3 separate regions of the Homo sapiens genome follow, and all the other regions are linked to region 1. The links are contacts of gene promoters, found by promoter capture Hi-C in blood cells and fetal thymus (Javierre and others, 2016). All regions are on one chromosome and are shown on one strand. Each heading gives the region's core, a stretch centred on a gene start or on the middle of the fragment in contact. The rest is flanking DNA. Distances are from core to core; before and after follow the strand shown. Region 1 holds the start of CACNA1G (calcium voltage-gated channel subunit alpha1 G). Region 2 has its middle 31 kb from the start of WFIKKN2. Region 3 overlaps ANKRD40CL (ANKRD40 C-terminal like).

The links. Contacts are between HindIII fragments. The CHiCAGO score rates a contact against its expected background, and 5 or more counts as called.
Region 2: a contact is called between a fragment that was not itself captured here and the fragment with the promoter of CACNA1G in region 1, in 7 of 17 cell types (M0 macrophages, M1 macrophages, endothelial precursors and 4 more). The highest score is 7.3, in M0 macrophages.
Region 3: a contact is called between a fragment that was not itself captured here and the fragment with the promoter of CACNA1G in region 1, in 6 of 17 cell types (M0 macrophages, M1 macrophages, monocytes and 3 more). The highest score is 12.9, in M0 macrophages.

What each region holds. Positions count from the first base shown.
Region 1 is chr17:50,557,461-50,561,964 of GRCh38, reverse strand. It overlaps CACNA1G (calcium voltage-gated channel subunit alpha1 G), which reads right to left and starts at 1,250. Exons shown (of 38, transcript NM_018896.5): 1 at 264-1,250. The coding sequence starts at 505. CACNA1G-AS1 (CACNA1G antisense RNA 1) reads left to right here. Exons shown (of 2, transcript NR_038439.1): 1 at 1-37. RefSeq lists enhancers at 1-291, 1,651-1,700 and a silencer at 1,051-1,430. The HindIII fragment of the contact is 9,044 bases long and covers 1-4,504 here.
Region 2 is chr17:50,802,446-50,806,949 of GRCh38, reverse strand. No RefSeq gene overlaps it. Among named protein-coding and RNA genes, the nearest start is that of WFIKKN2, 31 kb to the left of the region's middle. RefSeq lists a silencer at 562-783. The HindIII fragment of the contact is 2,841 bases long and covers 441-3,281 here.
Region 3 is chr17:50,760,499-50,765,002 of GRCh38, reverse strand. It overlaps ANKRD40CL (ANKRD40 C-terminal like), which reads left to right. Exons shown (of 4, transcript NM_001358683.3): 3 at 1,446-1,606; 4 at 3,497-3,973. The coding sequence ends at 3,640. Among named protein-coding and RNA genes, the nearest start is that of ANKRD40CL, 4.8 kb to the left of the region's middle. The HindIII fragment of the contact is 1,184 bases long and covers 1,207-2,390 here.

The sequences.
Region 1 (4,504 bases), core at 1-2,500:
GCCTGGATCCCCACCCCCCCAACCCAGGAAGACTGAGGTGTGTGTACGCAGGTGGGGTAAGCCCGGGTTACCGACGAGACCTGCTCGCGTCTCCGCTCCCACTCTGGTGCCCCCTCCCCTCCCTGGCAGCCCCCCCCCCATCCGCCTACCCTCCGGGCTCACTTCGACTCACCTGGCGGTGGGTCTTCTTCCCCCCCGACCCCCGGCGGTGCGGCCCGTCCCCCTTCTGACCCCGCGCCTGGCCGTCGTGCCCCGAAGGATATGGGTTACAGACCGTGCGGAGACACCAGCTCCGCGGGCGGCTGTCCTGGCTCAAGTAGAAGAAAACCACCGGGGCCAGCGCCGGGTACGGCAGCCCCTCCGCCTCGGAGTCCGCGCTGCCCGGGTCCTTTTCTGCTGACCCCGGCCCCGGCCGGCCCCCGGCCCCCGACAGGTCGTTGAGCCGCATGAAGCTCCGGGGCTGTCCCGACTCCTCGGCGCCCGCTCCATCCTCCTCCTCGTCCATCCTCTGGCCAGCCGGGGCCCCGGGCGATCCGGAGAGGGGCAAGCGGCGCCCCTCAGAGGAGGTGTCCTCACGCAACCCGGGGGCCCCGGCGGGGGCACATCTGGTGGGCTCTAGGGCGCAAGCTGAGCCCCCGGGAGGGCCAGTTCAGCCCAGCTCCCCCTGCCCGCAGGGGCATGCTGCCCGCGGGGCGCCGGGGCGCAGGGAAACCCCGCCCGGCGCGAGTCCCGCTTCCCCTGCGCCCCTGGGGCTTCCCGGGCCAGCCGGCCGGCTCCCCCTCACTTTGTTCCGGCTTCTTCGCTTCGCGCCCAGGCTCCGGTTGCCGGATTCGGCGCTACCTTCGGCGAAGCCGCCCCGAGAGGGCGAACGAAAAGGGGGGCAGCGGCGGAGGGCGGGGGTCCGGGGAGGGGCGCCCCCTCTTCCCGCGGCGCAGCTGGAGCCGGATCTAAGGGGTCAGCATCGTCCCGGCTCCGCGCCAGGCGGCGGGGGAGGGGAGGAGGGATCTCTTTAGGGGTGGGCTTGGAGGGGGTGGGGGCGGCTCCTTCCCCCGCCCCGCCGCGGGCTCACTGTCCGGGAGGGGCGGGGAGACAGTGGGGGGCAGTCCCGGGCGGGAGTGGAGGCGGAGATGCCGCCGCCGCAGCCGCCGCGGTGGCTGCCGCTGCCGTAGCTGTCGCCGGCGCCACAGCCTCCTCCTCCGGCCGAGACGCGGAGCGAGCGAGCGAAAGCGGCGGCGAGGAGCCCCGCGCACACCACAGCTGGATCCCTCACTTCAACTTCAAGCCTCGGCCCCGCCCCCAGACAGCCCCGCAGCCAATCGCCGGACGCCGCCGGCCCCGAGCCGCGCGCCCATTGGCCGTCCGCCGTGGCAGTGCGGGCGGGAGCGCAGGGAGAGAACCACAGCTGGAATCCGATTCCCACCCCAAAACCCAGGACCGCCCCTCTCCCCTCCCCTTGCCCCTGGGTCCGCTCCCGAAGGCTGGAGCCAATCAGACTGCTGCCCAGACCGAACCCACTTTCCTATTGGCCATTGGGGTCTTTGGGACTCCCTTGGAGGGAGCCCGAAGAATCAGAGTATTCGGCGCGGGGTCCTGGCGTAGGGCCGCAGGCCCCAGGCATCCTTTGTCCACGACCCCTGATTTGGGCAGCAGCCGGAGGACGGAGCTCAGCTCTGGGCGGGCCTGGGGAAGAAAGGAGACAGGCGGCACGGGGGTGAGGGTTGTCACCAGGGGGTCCCAGAGCGAAATCCCAGGTCTCCACCTGGTTAATCTCCCACCCTGGAGTTGAGCTTGGCTGCGGGACTGGGGGAGGGAAGGAGCGGAGCTGGATGTCCTGGGGGTGGGGCTTCAGGCTGGAGGGGCCCAGTCTTGGAGAAACGGGCGGAGCTCGAGAAAGGCTAGGGTAGGCATGGTCTGGGCGTGGCCTCCACAAATCTCTTGGGCTTATTGGTCATACTCCCGAGTCAATTCTGAGACTTCGACCCTGACCTCGTAACCCTAACCCGCTGGACCTGACCTCACATTGACGCTCCTGGGCTTCATCCCTTTGCCCCTAGGGACCTTTTGAAGGGCGTGGACTCCACGCAGGGGCTTCGTGCTTGAACACGTGGCCCCAGGCAGGTCGCGCTGGACCGCAGAGCCCGGATCCCCAGGAGGGGCTGCGGAGCAGAGCGAGGACCCCTAAGAAGGAACCTGTGGGGGTCTCGAGTGTGTGGGAGGGGGCGGAAGCACAGAGCTGGGCTTTATCGACTCGACCTTCAAAGTCCCCACCACCGCCACCCCCCAACTTCGTGCCTCAGTTTCTCTTAAGTCCCTATGTGGCTTAGGGAAAGAGTGTCCGCGGAACTGGAACTTCGCGGGTCTGCCGCCTTCACTCACTCACCTTAACCCTACCGGCAGCGGGCCCTCGTGGGTTTGTGCTTTCCACGCGTGCACACGCACGCGCAGACCCCGGCCCTTGCCCCGCCTACCTCCCCGAGTTCTGGGGCTCAGTCGGCTCTAGCTCTCTCCTGCCGCCGGCGCCACTCCAGAAAGCTGTGGGTACCCGGGAGCGGAGCGCCGCGGGTGTGCTGGGCGCCGGTGGAGGGGGGAACAGCGAGGATTAGACGCCGGGAAGCACTTCCCCAACATCTGCGAGAGGTAGACACGGCGGAACCTAGTGGGTCAGTCAGTTCCCTCTCCGGAGATTTTGGGGCGCTTGCGCCACTGCGGAGAGGCGGCGGGATGGGTCGGATGACCTCCATCACCACCCCTCACTTTGCTGAGGCCATCACCCCTGGGCGTTGTTCACTCTCCTAAGGCTGCACCACCCACGCAGCCCCCGCGCACCTCCCGCCACCGCAGAGGGTTGGGGTCGTCTCAGTTCCCGCCCCGGCCGATGGGGGGAGGGGATGGGGGAAGTGGCAGAGTGGCTGCTGCGCCGTCGTCTCCCTGGTTGCCCTTTCGCCGAATCCATGCACAGAGTTGTGTAAATGAGGCCGGGCGGGCTCATTTGCATTTCATGCTAATGAGCAGATCCCCTAAGTGCCTTTTTTTCCTGGCGGGAGTCTCTGCTCTCATTCTGAGTATGCGGCGCCTGAGTCTTGAACCCCGTGCCGTCTTCTGGGAAAGGGGGGCTATTTATGGTTGCTCCGCGCGTCTGACACCTTCTTCCCTCCCGAGAGGCCGCAGTCTGCCGGGTCGGCCTGCCCTTCCCGCCAGGATAGAGGCCCCGGGGCTGGCGCGAGAAGTAGGGACGCCCAACACCCCTTCTTTGCAGAGGGGAAAATGAGGACAGAGAGGCTGGCCCAGCCCAATGATCAGGTCCCCTGGTGGTCAGCAGGCCCCACACCCTCATCCATCATCCCGGCCACCCCTGGGCTCTGGACTGAACTCTGTTCTAGAACATGCCCGAAAGGAGGGCAGGCACAAACGCACCATCTAGATAAATTGAGATCCACATGCACTTCCCTGGGTTCAGGACCTAGGGGAGACCGGCCACGCAAGACAGGATCTGATCCCTGTACTCGGCATGTTGGGGCTGATGGCCAGTCGGAGATGCTTACCCTTAGCCTGAGTGCCAGAGAGGAGGCAGAGGCAGAACCTACAGGGAAGGCAAAGAAGACCTGAAACCATCTTTATTTAACTCCAGCCCTCCAAGCCTCAGCTCTGACATCACCTCCTCAGAGTGGCCTTCTTTCCAGCAAGTATTTCAATGCCACTTAAGTGCCAAGGTGCTTAGGATACAGCACCGAGCCAGACACAAGTCTGGAACTTCACAGCACTTAGCCCAGGCTGGGATTATATGTTTGTGTTTGCAGTAATGAAATGATCATCTCCCTATCTAGGCTCTGTGTTCCCAGAGGGGCTATGTTCATTTTGCTCACTAGGGCCTTGTCTAGTGTCGGGCACAAAGTTGTTAGGTGAATGAATGACCTCAGGCAGGGAAAGGGAAACAAAGGGACAAGAAATTCCTTTCTTTGGGCCTCAGTTTCTCAACAAAGACACTAAGCCTAACTAAGAGTTTTTCTGGGTTTGAGGAAGAACCCCCCCCATATATACCCTGCTCAGCCAGCCCCTCCAGCCCCCTCCAGCCCTGCCTTTACCCCTCCCTCACAGCCCATCTGGCTCCCTGCGGAGCTAAGATAATCTTCCCATCTGTGATACCCTTTGCTCAGGGATGATACAACCATTATCCCATTTAGTCACCTTAACAGCCCTGAGAGCTGGGTGGATGGCCCCCCACCTTTCAGATAAGGAAGGGGGGTGCTCAGAATGATGAAGTTACTTAAGTGACTGCCCAGACGGTATGGCCCTGTCTCCAGTGACCCTGGCCCGCAGGTGTTCCGCTGGTAGAACAGGGTGCACACTCAAGAGGGACCAGCAAAGGGGAAGGGATGCTGCAGGAACTCTTATAATCCTGCTTCTGAGTGAGATTTATGTGGGACCCTGCCCCCTTTAGAAATTCGAGCACTCCTGGGAGAACTAACCCTTTAAGGAGGTAACTCCTTCTTCCCAACCCATTTAC
Region 2 (4,504 bases), core at 612-3,111, 240 kb before region 1:
GTCTCACCCTGTCACTCAGGCTGGAGTGCAGTGGTTCGATCTCGGCTCACTGCAGCCTCCGCCTCCCGAGTTCAAGTGATTCTCCTGCCTCAGCCTCCCGAGTAGCTAGGATTACAATTGTGCACCACCACGCCTGGCTAATTTTTGTATTTTCAGTAGAGACAGGGTTTCACCATGTTGGCCAGGCTGGTCTCAAACTCCTGACCTCAAGTGATCCACCCACCTCGGCCTCCCAAAGTGCTGGGATTACAGGCATGAGCCACTGCGCCCAGCCTGTTGTTTGTAGGTTCTACATTGTGTTGATTCATTCATCAATTTTTGGATATTTGGATGGTTTTCTACTTTCGGCTGTTTCTGGCCAGAGCCCCACAGCGCCCCCTCTAGACCCTCCATACTCATCTCTGAGTGAGGCAGTCATGCAGCCAGCGGGCCTCCAAGCTTCTGTGCCAAGTCAAACAAGAGTTTGACCCTAATCCAACACAGAGAAAATTTGGCAACGCTAAGCCAAGTTCCTTGGTGAGGCGCACATTTGCCTCTTGATCTGCCGCATGCCCTCTTCAGGGAACACCCTTTCTTCCTGGGGGCAGCTTCTCCCCCTATTCCAACCACGTGGCCCTAGTGGGGCTGCCATGCCATCCCGGAACCCTACCTGATGCAGGGTCTCTGCAGCTCAGCCTTTCCCACATGCGGAGCGGCCAAGTGTGCAGCTGAAGTTTTTGGTTGATTCTAGCAAATTCCCCCTTTCTGCCCAAGCTGGCTCATGTTGGATTTTGTCACTTTCAAGCCAGAGTCCTCACGGGGGCAGCTCCATCTCCCACCACAAATCCCAGGTGCTCCCTGAAGTGGAGAAAATGGGGCATCCTGCCTGGGCCCAGACTAGCACCCCCCCACAATATAATAACTCTGTGGGGTCCCCAGGTGTTTCATTTAACTTTGAGCTTCCTGGATGAACAGCATGGAGCTCCAATATTCATAAAAACTGGACCTCTGGGGCACGCCCAGGCTTGTCGAGACCCTGGAGGTCAGAAAGTGCAAGAAAGTTCTCCAGGTGTTCCTTGGACAGTTTGCACCTGGTAACTGACCCTTGGCTTGTGGGATTCCCCCCACCCCATGTCATTCCCCCCACCCCATGTGGCTAATGAATGGATCCTGCAGGGAGTCACCATTCGCCTGGATAACGTCCTTGGGTGCCGTCCAGTGGGGCCTGGAAAAAGTTGCTGGCTTAGGCAGCATCGCCTCCAAGCCAGCTGTTCCTAAGGACTGTGTTCCCACATGCAGAACACCTGGGCCCTCCTCTGTCCAGCCAGGACTTCTGCGTGTGCTGAACTGGCTATTGACACTTCCTAGGTAGATTCCCCAGTGTCTGTCTGACCAGCAACCCTCCTCACCTCCTCCTCAGAACTTATTGTGGAATCAGAAAGTATAAGATTTCCCCTTGGGGACGAGTAGTACAGAATGAGTCCAGGTGTGGTGGCTCACACCTGTAATCCCAGCACTTTGGGAGGCTGAGGCAGGGGATCACTGGAGGTCAGGAGTTCAAGACCAGCCTGGCCAACATGGTGAAACCCTGTCTCTACTAAAAATACAAAAGTTAGCTGGTCATGGTGGTGTGCGCCTGTAGTCCCAGCTACTCAGGAGGCTGAGGCAGAATTGCTTGAATCTGGGGGGTGGAGATTGCAGTGAGCCGAAATCACACCACTGCACTCTAGCCTGGATGACAGGGCAAAACTCTGTCCAGACTCTGTCTAAAAAATAAAAAAAAAAACTGTAGGGCACGGTGGCTCACGCCTGTAATCCCACCACTTTGGAAGGCCAAGGCGGGCAGATCACCTGAGGTCGAGAGTTCAAGACCAGCCTGGCCAACATGGAGAAACCCCATCTCTACTAAAAATACAAAAGTAGCCAGGTGTGGTGGTGCATGCCCGTAATCCCAGCTACTTGGGAGGCCGAGGCAGGAGAATCGCTTGAATCCGGGAGGTGGAGGTGGAGGTTGCGGTGAGCTGAGATTGCGCCATCACACTCCAGCATAGGCAACAAGAGTGAAACTCTGTCTCAAAAAAAAAGTACAGAATGACAATTATGAAAATCAATTTTGTTTAATCTTTTCTAAAATGGAACAATGAACCAAGCAATTTCCTGGGCCCAAAAAAAGAAGCAGTATTGCGGTTATTAAAATAGTGTTTACTTTGTGCTGATGGGAAAAGATGTGAAATATTAATGACTCCACGGAGCCCCGATTATGTGACTCATTAGGCAAAGGCCCTATGTGCAATTAAAGTAGACTCTTCAGTGTCTATCTTAAGTGACTTTGTGTTTTGTCCAGCCACTCCATACACAAGGATGAGTGGCCAGGTGCAGAGGCTCATGCTTGTAATCCCAGCACTTTGGAAGGCCGAAGCAGGAGGATCGTGAAGCCTAGGAGTTCGAGACCAGCCTGGGCAACATAGTGGGACCCTCATCTCCATAAAAAAAAAACCAAAAAAGCAAAAACAACAAAAAAAAAAGAGAGAGAAAAAGATAATTTTTGTTGTTCTAATTTTTTTCTACAGAGCCTTTTTCATATAACTTTGTGCCTCGGGTTCCTCATCTGTACAATGGGATAATAGTACTTACTCCATAGGAATATTTTGAGGATTTACGACATATAACTCACTTAAAAACTGTGCCTGATGCCGGGCGTGGTGGCTCACGCCTGTAACCCCAGCACTTTAGGAGGCCAGGGAAGGCGAATCACTTGAGGTCAGGAGTTCATGACCAGCCTGGCCAACATGGTGAAACCCTGTCTCTACTAAAAATGCAAAAAATTAGCTGCAAATCGCTTAAACCTGGGAGGCGGAGCTTGCAATGAGCTGAGATCTGCCACTGCACTCTAGCTTGGGCGACAGAGCGAGACTCCATCTCAAAAACAAACAAACAAACAAAAAACTGTGCCTGAAAAGTAGGAACAATAAAATACATGAGTCATTATCATCCCCATTATCATCATTATAAATCTCGAGGATGTAGAACACACTTTAGGTAACTGAGTGAAATGAAGCTCGATAGCACAGGACACAGTCATGGTTCAGGACCTGCACCCACTGTCAATCACTTCAGCTGCAAATACGCTCAGCAAACTCACTGGGTTCTTGTCCTTTGTTTTGTGTTTCTTTTTCCCCATCTAAACTAGGTCCCTCTGTTTCACTTACTAAGCGAGACCAGTCTGCTGTTTTTCTCTGCAGATACTGGCTTTAAGAAAAAGGTGCCTCTGGCTGTTTCTGAGTTTTAATGAAAGCAAAGCTTCTTTCTTTCCCCAAGACTCTGCCGCAGGCTGCAGGGTGAGGCCTGTGATTCAAACTGAACTCGTTTCTCCCACCTAAAGAGGTTACAAGCCAGACCCTTTGGATCTCTTTCTCCGGACTTTTCTGCCAAGCTTGCCTCACAGGTGCAGGGGGCAGGACTGGAAGGAGGTGGCCTGGAGCTGCTGAAGCCCACAGGGGCTGGGTCTCTAACGGTGGCCTGTGAGGTCTTCAGAGACACCCCAGTTGCTGCCATTCTCAGCTTCCTGGTGTCCTTCCAATCGGGGCCTGTTGTTTGGTTTGGTTTTGACTCGTTTGAGTATACTTCCTAGGGTTCACCAGAGACACAAGAAACACCTACAGCCAGGCACGGTGGCTCCCGCCTCTAATCCCAGCATTTGGGATGCCAAGGTGGGCGGATCACTTGAGCCCTGGAGTTGGAGACCAGCCTGGGCAACATAGTGAGATCTTGTCTCTACTAAAAATAAAAAATTAGCCGAGTGTTGTGGCGCACGCCTGTGGTCCCAGCTACTTGGGAGGCTGAGGCAGGAGGATTGCTTGAGGATGGGAGGTTGAAGCTTCAGTGAGCCATGATTGTGCCACTGCACTCCAGCCTGGGCCACAGAGCAAGACCCTGTCTCAAAAAAACAAAACAAAACAAAAGTGAAACACTGTCACCTTTTTTCTTCCCCTCCTGCCTCACAGCCAGCCTCCTAGAGAAGGAGAAAGGCCTGGTAGCAGCATGAGCTGCCAGGAGCTGAGAAACCCATTTCTGTCTGTCCTCCTTGTTCCTGAGCCACTTCACCTAGGGGAGTGCTATTTGTGCTCTGGTGGGGACATAAAATTGCAACAGGAAGCCAGCACAGGTGACCTCTGCCCCTGTCTATTTGGAGAAAGTTGGTCCTAGCTGAGGTCAACACCCCAGGCACAATTACACCCACAGTAAAGCGGGGGGATGAACCACTTTACAGGGTCTGGCTCCCCAAGATGGTACATCAGCACATCAGAACATAATCATCCAAAGAAAATGACTTGGCTTGTGCCTCGTGAGAGTTCAAATTCCACATCAGCTCCAGGCTAGGGGGAGTCAAAACTGCTGAACAGATACAGAATAGCCGGAGATGAAAGCTAAGAGATCTCAGGACCTAACGGCTTTGTGGCTGTCTGTATTAGACAGGATCAGTTAATGCTGCAAGAAACAAGCCTGAGAATGATAATGGCACAAG
Region 3 (4,504 bases), core at 549-3,048, 200 kb before region 1:
CTCTTCACCTCCTCTGCCCTCTGGATCTAGTGAAGCCTATTCATCCTTCAGATGTCAGCTCAAATAATCAACCTTCATGGAGGCCTCCCTTGACCCCTAACATGCTTTCAAAGTACTGTGTATTTCACATTCATCATGCCCCGACAACTGTGATTTCCCATTTATTAATATCTGTCTCTTCTGCTGGCCTGCAAACTCCAGGAGCACAGAGACATCTTTGGGATTTTTGAACATGATTTCCCCAGGGCTTAGCCCAGTGCCTGGTGCAAAGCAGGCTTTCAACATGTTCAGTGGATATTGTAAGAAAGAAAGAAATACACAAAAGGCCTGGCATATGCAAAGCACTCTAAATATTCACTCCTTTCCCTTCCCTCTGGGTGAGAAAATTTCTCCTTATAAAGACACCCTCCTAACTGTATCTCTGCTAGAGAACTGAAGACATAAAGCACTCTGTGCCAAAAATATTTAAGTAAAAACTTGAGCTAAGCACAGAGATTATAAATATTTCTTCCCCAGATTACGCACCATTTAAAAATACTGTCTCAGCTCCTTTTCATGATTTGGGTGGTGATTAAAGAAAATTACTCTTCAAGACTGAAAGTCATTACTGCCCTTTTCCTGACTTGCCTTTTCCCTTGAGAAGGGGAGGATAAGCTGCAGGGCAGGAAGTGGAAGTGGGGCATCCTTGTCCTTTGTCTGGCAGACAGCCAACTGGTCAGGTACTGCTCCTTCTCAACTCTTTCCTGATTCCCAGGTGAATATAAACAAGAAGGCACAAATCCACACTTGCCAACAACGGACCCAAGTGATAACAAGAAACCCAGTGACACCTGTCTAGGTGAAGACTCAGCCCCTATGTGACCAGGTTGCAAAGCCAAACTGACCATCTGCTTTCCATTTGGACTTTTAGTTCATACTGTATCTTCTCAGGACAGTTAAGTTGGAATACAATGCCACTGTCCTGAAAGATGGTAGAATTATCCTATTTCTGGAGGAGTGGGGGTGGTGGGTAGGAATCTCAAGAGCGATTTGCTCCTCTGCACAATAGCTTCTTTAAGGACACCAGGGCCCCCAGGGCTATACATTTCCCTGAAGCTTTCCAGATAAGCAACAAGGTATGAGCACCTGCTATGTATTGCCCAAGGGTGATGTGTTTAAATATCCATTGCATATTTTAAATCCTTGGCTGGCTTAAAGCTGCAAGCTTTCTGTCTTCAGTGGATATAATGGGGGCATACATCCCAGAGCTTGCCCAACACTCCAAGAAAAGAACCCTCAGCTAATGCAAAGTGTGTATGTGCCCATGAAAGCTCCATGTCTACTTAACATTCAGTTTTTAGGATTATTTATGCTGTAATAATAGATATGAAAATCTCTGACAGGTATTTTGTTTCCTTTACAAACTGTATTTGAATTTATGGGTGATTTAGAGCTTGTGTTTAAAGTCAGAATTCAGAACCCCAAAGAAAATGACTTCATTGAAATTGAACTGAAGAGACAAGAACTGAGTTACCAAAACCTACTAAACGTGAGTTGCTGTGAACTGGGGATTAAACCAGAACGAGTGGAGAAGATCAGAAAGCTACCAAACACACTGCTCAGAAAGGTAAGGGTTAAGAGTTTCTAAATGCAGAATCACAGTGGGTGACATCATGTTCTCTGGAGCCAATCGTTTACACTTCTGCATTTCATGACACCAGAAATCCTGGCTGCAAAACGGCCAAACATGGTAGCTAGGTCATTTTCAATCTGGCGCTTTTAAGATTTGCACATCTAATCCATAAACCTTTTAAAAACCTCTAAATGGTCCGATCACGGTGGCTCACACCAGTACAATCCCAGCACTTTGGGAGGCCGAGGTGGGCAGATCACAAGGTCAAGAGATCGAGACTATCCTGGCCAACACGGTGAAAACCCGTCTCTACTAAAAATACAAAAATTAGCTGGGCATGGCAGCGCGTGCCTGTAATCCCAGCTACTCAGGAGGCTGAGGCAGGAGAATTGCTTGAACCCAGGAGGAGGAGGTTGCAGTGAGCTGAGATAGCACCACTGCACTCCAGCCTGGCGACAGAGCTAGACCCTGTCTCAAAAAAAAACAAACCTCTGAATGACAAGTGACTCCCCAATTTAAGGCTTTAGTTCAGTGCTTTTGGCCCCACCAATCTCTGCAAAATTGACTGGTTAACATAAAATGGCATAGTCCTCAGGAAAAAAAAAAACACAAACCCATCCTTGTTTGCTTAGCAAAGGGTGGGTTTGCTAAGTATTTGAAATATTAGCAAACAAAAATTGTTTTGCATTTTTATATATTTCCCAGATTTAAAATACAGATCTTAATTTTTAATTTTGGAAAGGAAATCTTATTTCTTTGGAAATTTTTCTTTAAAGCTTTCAAAATTCCTTTGGCAATTTTTTTGTTTTTTGTTTTTTTGAGACAGGGTCTCTGTCACCCACAATAGAATGCAATGGCGTGATCATAGCTCACTGCAGCCTCGAAATCCTCAGCTCAAGTGATCCTCCCATCTTAGCCTCCAGAGTAGTTGGGACTACAGGGACACACCACCACACTCCATTAATTTCTTTTTTTTGAAATGGGTCTGGCTATATTGCCCAGGCTGTTCTCAACCCCCTGGCCTCATCCTCCTAAGTGCTGGGATAACAGGTGGTGAGCTGCTGTTCCTTTGGCAATCCTTACTGGTGTCTTGGCTTATAGTGTATATTCTTTGTAAACTAACATGTCAAGGGATGATCATGCTTTCCAGATACCTTAACAACAAAAATCTGCTGGGTGTGGTGTCTCATGCTTGTAATCCCAGCACTTTGGGAGGCCGAGGTGGGCGGATTGCTTGAGCTCAGGAATTTGAGACCAGCCTGGGCAACATGGTGAAACCCTGTCTCTACAGGAAAATACAAAAATTAGCTGGGTGTAGTAGACTTGGGAGGCTGCAGTGGAAGTGGAAGGATTGCTTGAGCCTAGGAGGTTGAAGCTGCAGTGAGCTGTGACTGTGCCACTGCACTCCAGGTTAGGTGACAGAGCGAGACCCTGTCTCAAAAAAAAAAATACAGAACTATCTTATGGGGACCGGGCGCAGTGGCTCACACCTGTAATCCCAGCATTTTGGGAGGCCCAGGTGGGCAGATCACCTGAAGTCAGGAGTTCAAGACCAGCCTGGCCAACATGGTGAAAACTGTCTCTATAAAAAATACAAAAATTAGCCGGGCATGATGGCGCATGTCTGAATCCCAGCTACTCAGGAGGCTGAGGTTGCAGTGAGCCAAGTGAGGCAGGAGAATCACTTGAACCTGGGAGGCGGAGGTTGCAGTGAGCCAAGATCGCATCATTGCCCTCCAGCCTGGGCGACAAAAGCAAGACTCTGTCTCAAAAAAAACAATACCTTATGGGTTCAGAACCCAAGATGCTGAACAATATTAATATTAAGGTTTTCTATTACATTCAAATTTATTAAGCATAATATAATTTCTTTTCTACATTAAGGACAAAGACATTCGAAGACTGCGGGACTTTCAGGAAGTGGAACTCATTTTAATGAAAAATGGAAGCTCCAGATTGACAGAATATGTGCCATCTCTGACAGAAAGGCCCTGCTATGATAGCAAAGCTGCAAAAATGACTTATTAAATACTCCCAGGAATGGCCGCGCATGGTGGCTCACCCCCTGTAATCCCAGCACTTTAGGAAGCCAAGGTGGGCAGATCACCTGAGGTCAGGAGTTCTAGACCAGCCTGGCCAACATATAGTGAAACCCAGTCTCTACTAAAAAAAATACAAAAATTAGCTAGGTGTGGTGGCGCACACCTGTAGTAGTCCCAGCTACATGGGAAGCTGAGGCAGGAGAATCACCTGAACCCAGGAGGCAGAGGTTGCAGTGAGCTGAGATTGCGCCACTGCACTCCAGCCTGGCGACAGAGCAAGACTCTGTCTCTCAAAATAAATAAATAAATAAATAATCAATCCCAGGAATTAAAAAACTGAAATCATTATTTCACAAATAATGAAGTCTGGATGCATATACCAGTTTGGCTAACTTCATGTTTGAACTGTGAGAAATTATTATGTTTCGTCATCTCCAATTTCTCTGGGCTGGGAGAAGAGTTAAGTTTAGGGTTTTGACAAATAGCTATAAAAAACATCACAAGGTATGATACTTACACCAAGGGCAGTTTATTTTGTAGAGTTGTGCCCTAATCCTGATGTATGCTTTATAAGATTCAGTCAGGACAAATGGCCAGAGTCTCTTCAGGTCAACCCACATGGGCAGGGTGAGCTGATGGTGCTAGGAAAGCCAGGACCCACTTGGCAACACAAGTTCTATCAGTGTCCGCCCCCACTCCGCCTTTTTTTTTTTTTTTTTTTTTTTTGAGACAGAGTTTCACTCTGTTGCCTATGCTGGAGTGCAATGGCACGATCTCAGCTCACTGCCAAGTTCAAGCGATTCTCATGCCTCAGCCTCCCAAGTAGCTGGAATTACAGGCACACACCACC